Linked DNA regions of Homo sapiens: region 2 is linked to region 1. Evidence: promoter capture Hi-C in human tissues and cell types (Jung and others, 2019). All regions are on one chromosome and are shown on one strand. The core of a region is centred on a gene start or on the middle of the fragment in contact, and the rest is flanking DNA. Distances in the headings are between cores, read along the strand shown. Region 1 holds the start of BTAF1 (B-TFIID TATA-box binding protein associated factor 1). Region 2 has its middle 180 kb from the start of CYP26A1.

Region 1 (3,279 bases), core at 352-2,851:
TATTAAGTTTACATATCAATGCATTTACAATGTATATATTCATGCATTTATATGGGAGGTAACAAATTAGAAGATACACCTTTCTATATTTGCAAAAATGTAAAATGTCACTTGTATTCTCTCAAGGCAGTTTTATTTAAAAAAAAATTTCCTCACATTGAATAGATTATAAAATAAAAATCAGATGCCCCATACTACGGTACCTAGCAACCCCCTTCACCCAACTCCCATGGGCTTCTCCCACACACTATTTCATCAGTCATCTAGGGAGTCTGTAAGGAATGGGTTATCCTTTCCCTTGCAAAACAGATAAAACTTGTGCACTTAATACGCTCAAAGAATGTGTTCAGTTAATTATAAAAAAATGAAAACTATTTGTTTTCATCATTTATTCCTTCAGTCTATATGGTAAAAGAATCCAATTCTCATTAAAAGTTACCATATCAACTCTAAGGAACTTGGTGAATCCATCCGATCACTATCACAGAGGAACTATCCCTTAATTACATGTACAGAGGGTCACCAAATTCCGCTTACAAAAGCTTTCCAACCATTCTATCATACCGGAGGAAAAAGTAATGTTTCTCCTATAGCTATACAAATAAATGTCGTTAGTTTTTCTATAGTTTTCCTGGGCTTTCCTGTTGACAGGCAATATTTCAAAAGAATATAAGATCTGTGATTTATCTTCCACGCCTTAGTTACGGAAAATGATGCTAATACGATAATTGGCTTAAGGTTACAACGCTGACGTTGGAATGTTTACTGCCAAACAAAAGGAGAAATTATACTTAATTTTAAAAAACATCTCAGGAAAGAACATACCCCTAAAAACGTAAATTAAAACTGGTAACATAATTAGACGGTCTCTTAGATAATAGTAATTCAGGTTTCCCCTCCATCGACAGTAACTACCAAGTTTTCCCATGAAATGGAGGTTAGGGACCAGCCTTAGAATACTGAGAAAGATAAGAGACTCCCCTAGAATCGAAAGAGGGAAGAGAAACCAGAGAACAGAAACATGGTGAGGAAAGAGAAAAAACAGCTCTAACGTGCCAAGGGGTCTATTAACAAGAAAAAGGCATTATTGAACCGATTTACCCAGGAGTAACCCGAGCCCAAACCCCCGCCGACCACGGGGCGAACTCCGAAGTCTACTGAAGAAAGCTCCAGAGCCCAGTGACAATGAGAACCGCTCTTCTCTAGGAGTGGGGGCTCTAAGAGGAGACCATGCCTTCCCTGAATCGCCTTCCAGTTTGCTCGTCAGGAGCAAGACCCACCTGGAGACCGCCATGGCCGGGCGCCGGCGGTTCGGAGCTCCCCGCGACCTACGCGCCGCGCAGCTGAGGCGCTAGTTTCCAGAGAGCTGAGCGGCGCAGGCCCAGGCCGCGGAGCACAGGGGAGCGGCCGGTGCGGCGTGGGGCGTTCCAGCGCAGGCCCTCGGGCATCTGCCCTGCCGCCTACCCGAGCTCGTCCCCGCGGCGGCCGGTAAGCAGGGGTCCAAGACGGTAGCGGAGGCGGCAGTCCTCCGACCCGCACGACTTCAAACCGGGTACCCTCAGCTCCGCTCTTTGCTGACGCGGGCGTCGGCACGCACAACTGAGCGTCAGCGCGCCGGAAGTGACGTAAGCTCACCGACAGGAGCTTAGCTCGGCGCGAGCGCCTTTGGTTTGGCGGCACGCGCCTAAATAAAAGCGCTTTGTGCTGATGTGGAGAGGGTGTCTAGTCTTAAAACTAGGGAAGGAGGTGAAGTAAGGGTCCCCTTATTTGACAGAGAAGGAAAAAGGCGATTTAGTCCAAGTCCTGGAACTTCGAAAGCTTGGTTTCTAATTCCACACTACCCAGATTCTGCTTCCCACCGTACTGCATCTAGGAAGCAAGATCAGAAGGACCTTAACATGCTCTTGTCCAGGTGGTGAAGCCAGTGGGAGGAGTGAAAGCAAAAAGTCGCTATGACACTGAAGAAATGGCTCAGATGTTTGTCATTATTTGCCAGAAGTTCTGCCTAGGTATTGGAGAGAAGGTCTTCTGACCAACGATTTTGCCAAGTTTGATTTCTCAATTGTTTATGTTGTTTGTACCATCATTTTCTCAGCCAGCCAGATTTGAAAACTACCATTTTTAAATTTTTGTTCCTTTGGGGGACTTATCTGGCTTTTCAATATTTTTAAGTTCATTAGGCTTTTAAACACTTCTGCCAGGCCCTTATCATCTTACACTTGATTTTTTTTTTTTGACCGAGTTTCGCTCTGTCGCCCAGGCTGGAGTGCAGTGGCGCGATCTCGGCTCACTGCCAACCTGCGCTTACCGGGTTCAAGCGATTCTAAATGTGCCTCAACCTCCCGAGTAGCTGGGAGGCACACGAGCCCCACGCCGGGCCAATTTTTTGTATTTTTTAGTAGAGACGGGGTTTCGCCATGTAGGCCAGGCTTGTCTCCTGCTCCTGGCCTCAAGTGATCTGCCCGCCTCGGCCTCCCAAAGTGCTGGGATTACAGGTGTGAGCCACTGCGCCCGGCCCTTAAACTTGATTTTTATGCTAGTAGTCAAAATAATATTTCTCCAATTTTCAGTTCAGCCCATTTTATAGGCCAACAGATTAATCTTCAAAAAACCTCACTGCTTTTTATCATGTCGCTCCTATGCTTATAAAGCATGTCCATTGGCTTCTCATTACCTGAAGAGGCTATGTCTCAATCCTTGAGTCTGTTTTTCATCTGTAAAATGAGGCTAATGAGAAGTACTGCAGAAGATTGTGGGAATAAAATGAGGTCATGAATCTAGAAGAGCTTACAAGAACTTTGTAAACCATAAAGTAGTATATATGTATGTAAAGAGAAAGAAACTAACAAGTACCTGCTGTGTGCTGGGCACATGACATGCATTATCCATATAATTTGTAGGGAAGCCTTGAAAAGTTAGTTTTAATCTTCGTAGACAAGGAAACTAAGCTCAGAAAGGTTAAGTAATTTGCCTCAAGATTCAAGCTAGTAATAATATTTATTGTCCAGTCATTCAACAAATGTTTGTCACCTCTCTGTATCAGAAACTCTGCTTGGCGGTGTTCATGCTATTAAAATCTAATCAAGTTGATGTTCAAGATATCTTTACATTTTCACTTTAGTCACCTACTTGCCTCATCAGTTTATCTCCCACCATTCAATAACAAGCAGATACTTTTTACTGATCGTGTACAGCAATCATTTAGCCAAAATTAAGCACCTACCATATGAGAGACTGGAACTTCTGAAGAAACCAGAACAGACAAGGTGCCTACTCTGG
Region 2 (3,279 bases), core at 518-3,017, 1.3 Mb before region 1:
GCCAGCTCCCAGCCCCCATCTGCTCATCAAATTAGGCCTTGCTTGACATCTTCCCTCTCCCCCAACACTTATTTTCCAGAATTCCCAGGGGATTCTGATCTCCATATACACAGCACTGAGTTTCTCATGATATTCTGTCTCTGTGAGGCACTATCCCCTCTCCCCACTATGTCATTGCTCTCCATAGGGCCCCTGCCGGTGGCCCCTTTGGGCAGAATGGAAGGGATGTGGGAAGACCTGCCCTCTCCCTGTTTGTTCAGTGTCACATTTTGTCCCTTGGACTCTGAGCCAACAGTGCTTGGGCACAAGTTCAAAAAGTATCATATAAACATAGCTCCTTCCCCACCCCAGTATTAGGGGACAGGGAGACAAAAACAGTGGTTCATGCCCTCCATTCTCCCCTCCCTCCCAGGTACTCCTGAGGCAGAGGTTGGTGGGAGGAACTCCACCATTTTCTCTCAATTAAGAACCAAACTGATGTGCACATCAATTCGTGCAAACAGTTCTTGGGGTAAGGGGGTGGAGAGCACCCAAATCCCCTCCCAGTGGTGTTGCAGCTTCAGCTCGGGTTGGACAAGAGCTTCCATAAGCATTATCTCAATCAATCCACAATCTTATGAGCCAGTTAGTATTATCTTATGAGCTAGTTAGTATTATCCTATCTCATAGTTTAAAAAAAGATTTCAGTATGAAATGTTCAGTATTAAAACAGAAGAGACTAGGCCGGGCACAGTGGCTCATGCCTGTAATCTCAGCACTAGGCCGAGGTGGGCGGATCACGAGGTCAAGAGATTGAGACCATCCTGGCCAACATGGTGAAACCCCGTCTCTACTAAAAATATGAAAATTAGCTGGGCGTGGTGGCAGGTGCCTGTAGTCCCAACTACTCAGGGGGCTAAAGCAGGAGAATCACTTGAACCCCGGAGGCGGAGGTTACAGTGAGCTGAGATTGCTCCATTGCACTCCAGCCTGGTGACAGAGCGAGACTCCATCTCAAAATAAAACAACAACAACAAAAAACAGAAGAGACTAAACCTGTTCAACAGGCAGCAAATTTAGTGCATTCCTGTCTGCCATCTTCAGCCAGGGATTTGGTTATCTTTTTTTGTTTTTTTTATGTTTTTGTATTTTTAATAAACATTTCTTCTGATTACAAAAATATGAGTTATGTATTTTTAAATTATTTTGACTATAATTTTTAATGTTGTAGAACTATTATTGGGTTTTTCTTTTTTATTTTATTATTATTATACTTAAAGTTTTAAGGTACATGTGCACAATGTGCAGGTTAGTTACATATGTATACATGTGCCATGCTGGTGTGCTGCACCCGTTAACTCGTCATTTAGCATTAGGTATATCTCCTAAAGCTATCCCTCCCCCCTCCCCTCACCCCGGATTTGGTTATCTTAAGGCACATAACTAGAATGCCTGGACACCTGCATGTAAACCTCCCTTTGTGGCTTCCTTTTTCCAGTGAATTGTTTAAGCATATCCCTGCTGATCCCCTATCTTTGCTGCCTATGGTCTTTTATGGCCCCTGATAGGATCCCAGACCACCCCCTGGTATGTAAAAGTTTTAGACAACTTAGGGTCTGTGAAAACAAGATGCCAATCTTGGCTCCCAAAAGACTAAGATAGAAGGAAGAGTCAGGGTCTGGCTTAGTTGTGTTGTTTACCCTGAATGGAAGGAAGAAAATGAGGTTCTGGAAAACATGGATGTAAAAAGCTTTCTATCTTGCCATCCATCATGGATAGAGAAGGGGATTTTTGAGATTTAGATAAACCTGGGCCAAAATGCTTGCCTGGTTTTATCCTTTCTTTCTTTCTTTTTTTTTTTTTTTTTTTTTTTGAGATGGAATCTCGCTCTGTCACCCAGGCTGGCGTGCAATGGCGTGATCTCAGCTCGCTGCAACCGCCTTCTCCCAGGTTCAAGCGATTCTCCTGCCTCAGCCTCCCAAGTAGCTGGGATTACAGGCACCTGCCACCATGCCCAGCTAATTTTTGTATTTGTAGGAGAGACAGGGTTTCACCATGTGGGTCAGGCTGGTCTCAAGTTCCTGACCTCAAGTGATCTGCCTGCCTTGGTCTCCCAAAGTGCTGGGATTGCAGGCATGAGCCATCACGCCCGGTCTATTCATCTTTTTAAAGGAGGCTCATTAGTCACAGGACGCCATAACTTCTAAGGGGCAGGTATTGGTGTCCAACCATAGATGAGGAAACAGAGGCTCAGAGAGGCAAGTTCACACAGCTGGGCCAAGCCAGGAACAGATCACCCCAAACCAAAAAGTTTGAATTTAGAGCCCTCACTTTAGGCCTGGAGGGTTATAAAGAAGGCTTTCCTCAAGCGCTAAAGCTGTGTGCTCGTAATGGCTGGAATTTCCCAGGGCCTGGGAAGAGAATTCCAGGGGATCCTGGACTTATATGAGAAATAATCATCTGTATTTTCACAAATCTCCAACTGAAATTTAGCATTTTCTTCTATTATGAATGTAGGCAACAAACCACAGGAATGTTAGCCATACCTGGGACTTTGTTAGCAATGGAAATCACTGATATTTTCATAGCATATCTCAAAATATCACTTACATTCATTGCTTTTTCCAAGTTAGGGTAGTTATTAAGCCTGTGCTGGATTTTATTATCTGCCTTAGTAAAGGAGCTGACATTTTTCTATATCATAATCAATTTTTTTTTTTTTTTTTTTGAGACGGAGTCTCACTCTGTCACCCAGGCTGGAGTGCAGTGGTGCAATCTCGGCTCACTGTAGCCACCTCCTCCCAGGTTCAAGTGATTCTCCTGCCTCAGCTTCCTTGGATTACAGGTGCCCACCACCACGCCAGGCTAATTTCTGTATTTTTAGTAGAGACGGGGTTTCACCATGTTGGCCAGGCTGGTCTTGAACTCCTGACCTCAAGTGATCCACCCACCTCGGTCTCCCAGTGTAAGCCACTGCACCTGGCCAATTTTTAAAAAACATATTGAAAGTCAGAAGTGGTGGCTCGTGCCTGTAATCCCAACACTTTGGGAGGCTGAGACTGGAGGTTTGCTTGAGGCCGGGAGTTTGAGACCAACCTGGGCAACAAAGTGAGACCCCCATCTCCACAAAAAATATAAAAATTAGCCAGGCATGGTGGTGTGTGCCTGTAGTCCCAACTACTCGGGAGCCTGAGGTGAGAGGATCACTTGAGCCCAGGAGTTCAAGGCTGCCATAAGCCATGACTGTGCCATTGCACTCTTGCTGGGTGACAGAGTGAGACCCTGTCTCAAAAAATATAG

What was found. The method cuts DNA at HindIII sites, captures the fragments that hold promoters and counts their contacts. A contact is called where the count stands out against the background at its distance.
Region 2: a fragment that was not itself captured here is called in contact with the fragment with the promoter of BTAF1 in region 1 in 1 of the 25 tissues and cell types used here (aorta).

What each region holds. Positions count from the first base shown.
Region 1 is chr10:91,922,092-91,925,370 of GRCh38, reverse strand. It overlaps BTAF1 (B-TFIID TATA-box binding protein associated factor 1), which reads right to left and starts at 1,601. Exons shown (of 38, transcript NM_003972.3): 1 at 1,281-1,601. The coding sequence starts at 1,294. RefSeq lists enhancers at 1,059-1,258, 1,869-1,978, 2,326-2,859 and a silencer at 1,319-1,618. The HindIII fragment of the contact is 3,578 bases long and covers 1-2,832 here.
Region 2 is chr10:93,251,377-93,254,655 of GRCh38, reverse strand. No RefSeq gene overlaps it. Among named protein-coding and RNA genes, the nearest start is that of CYP26A1, 180 kb to the right of the region's middle. The HindIII fragment of the contact is 7,279 bases long and covers 1-3,279 here.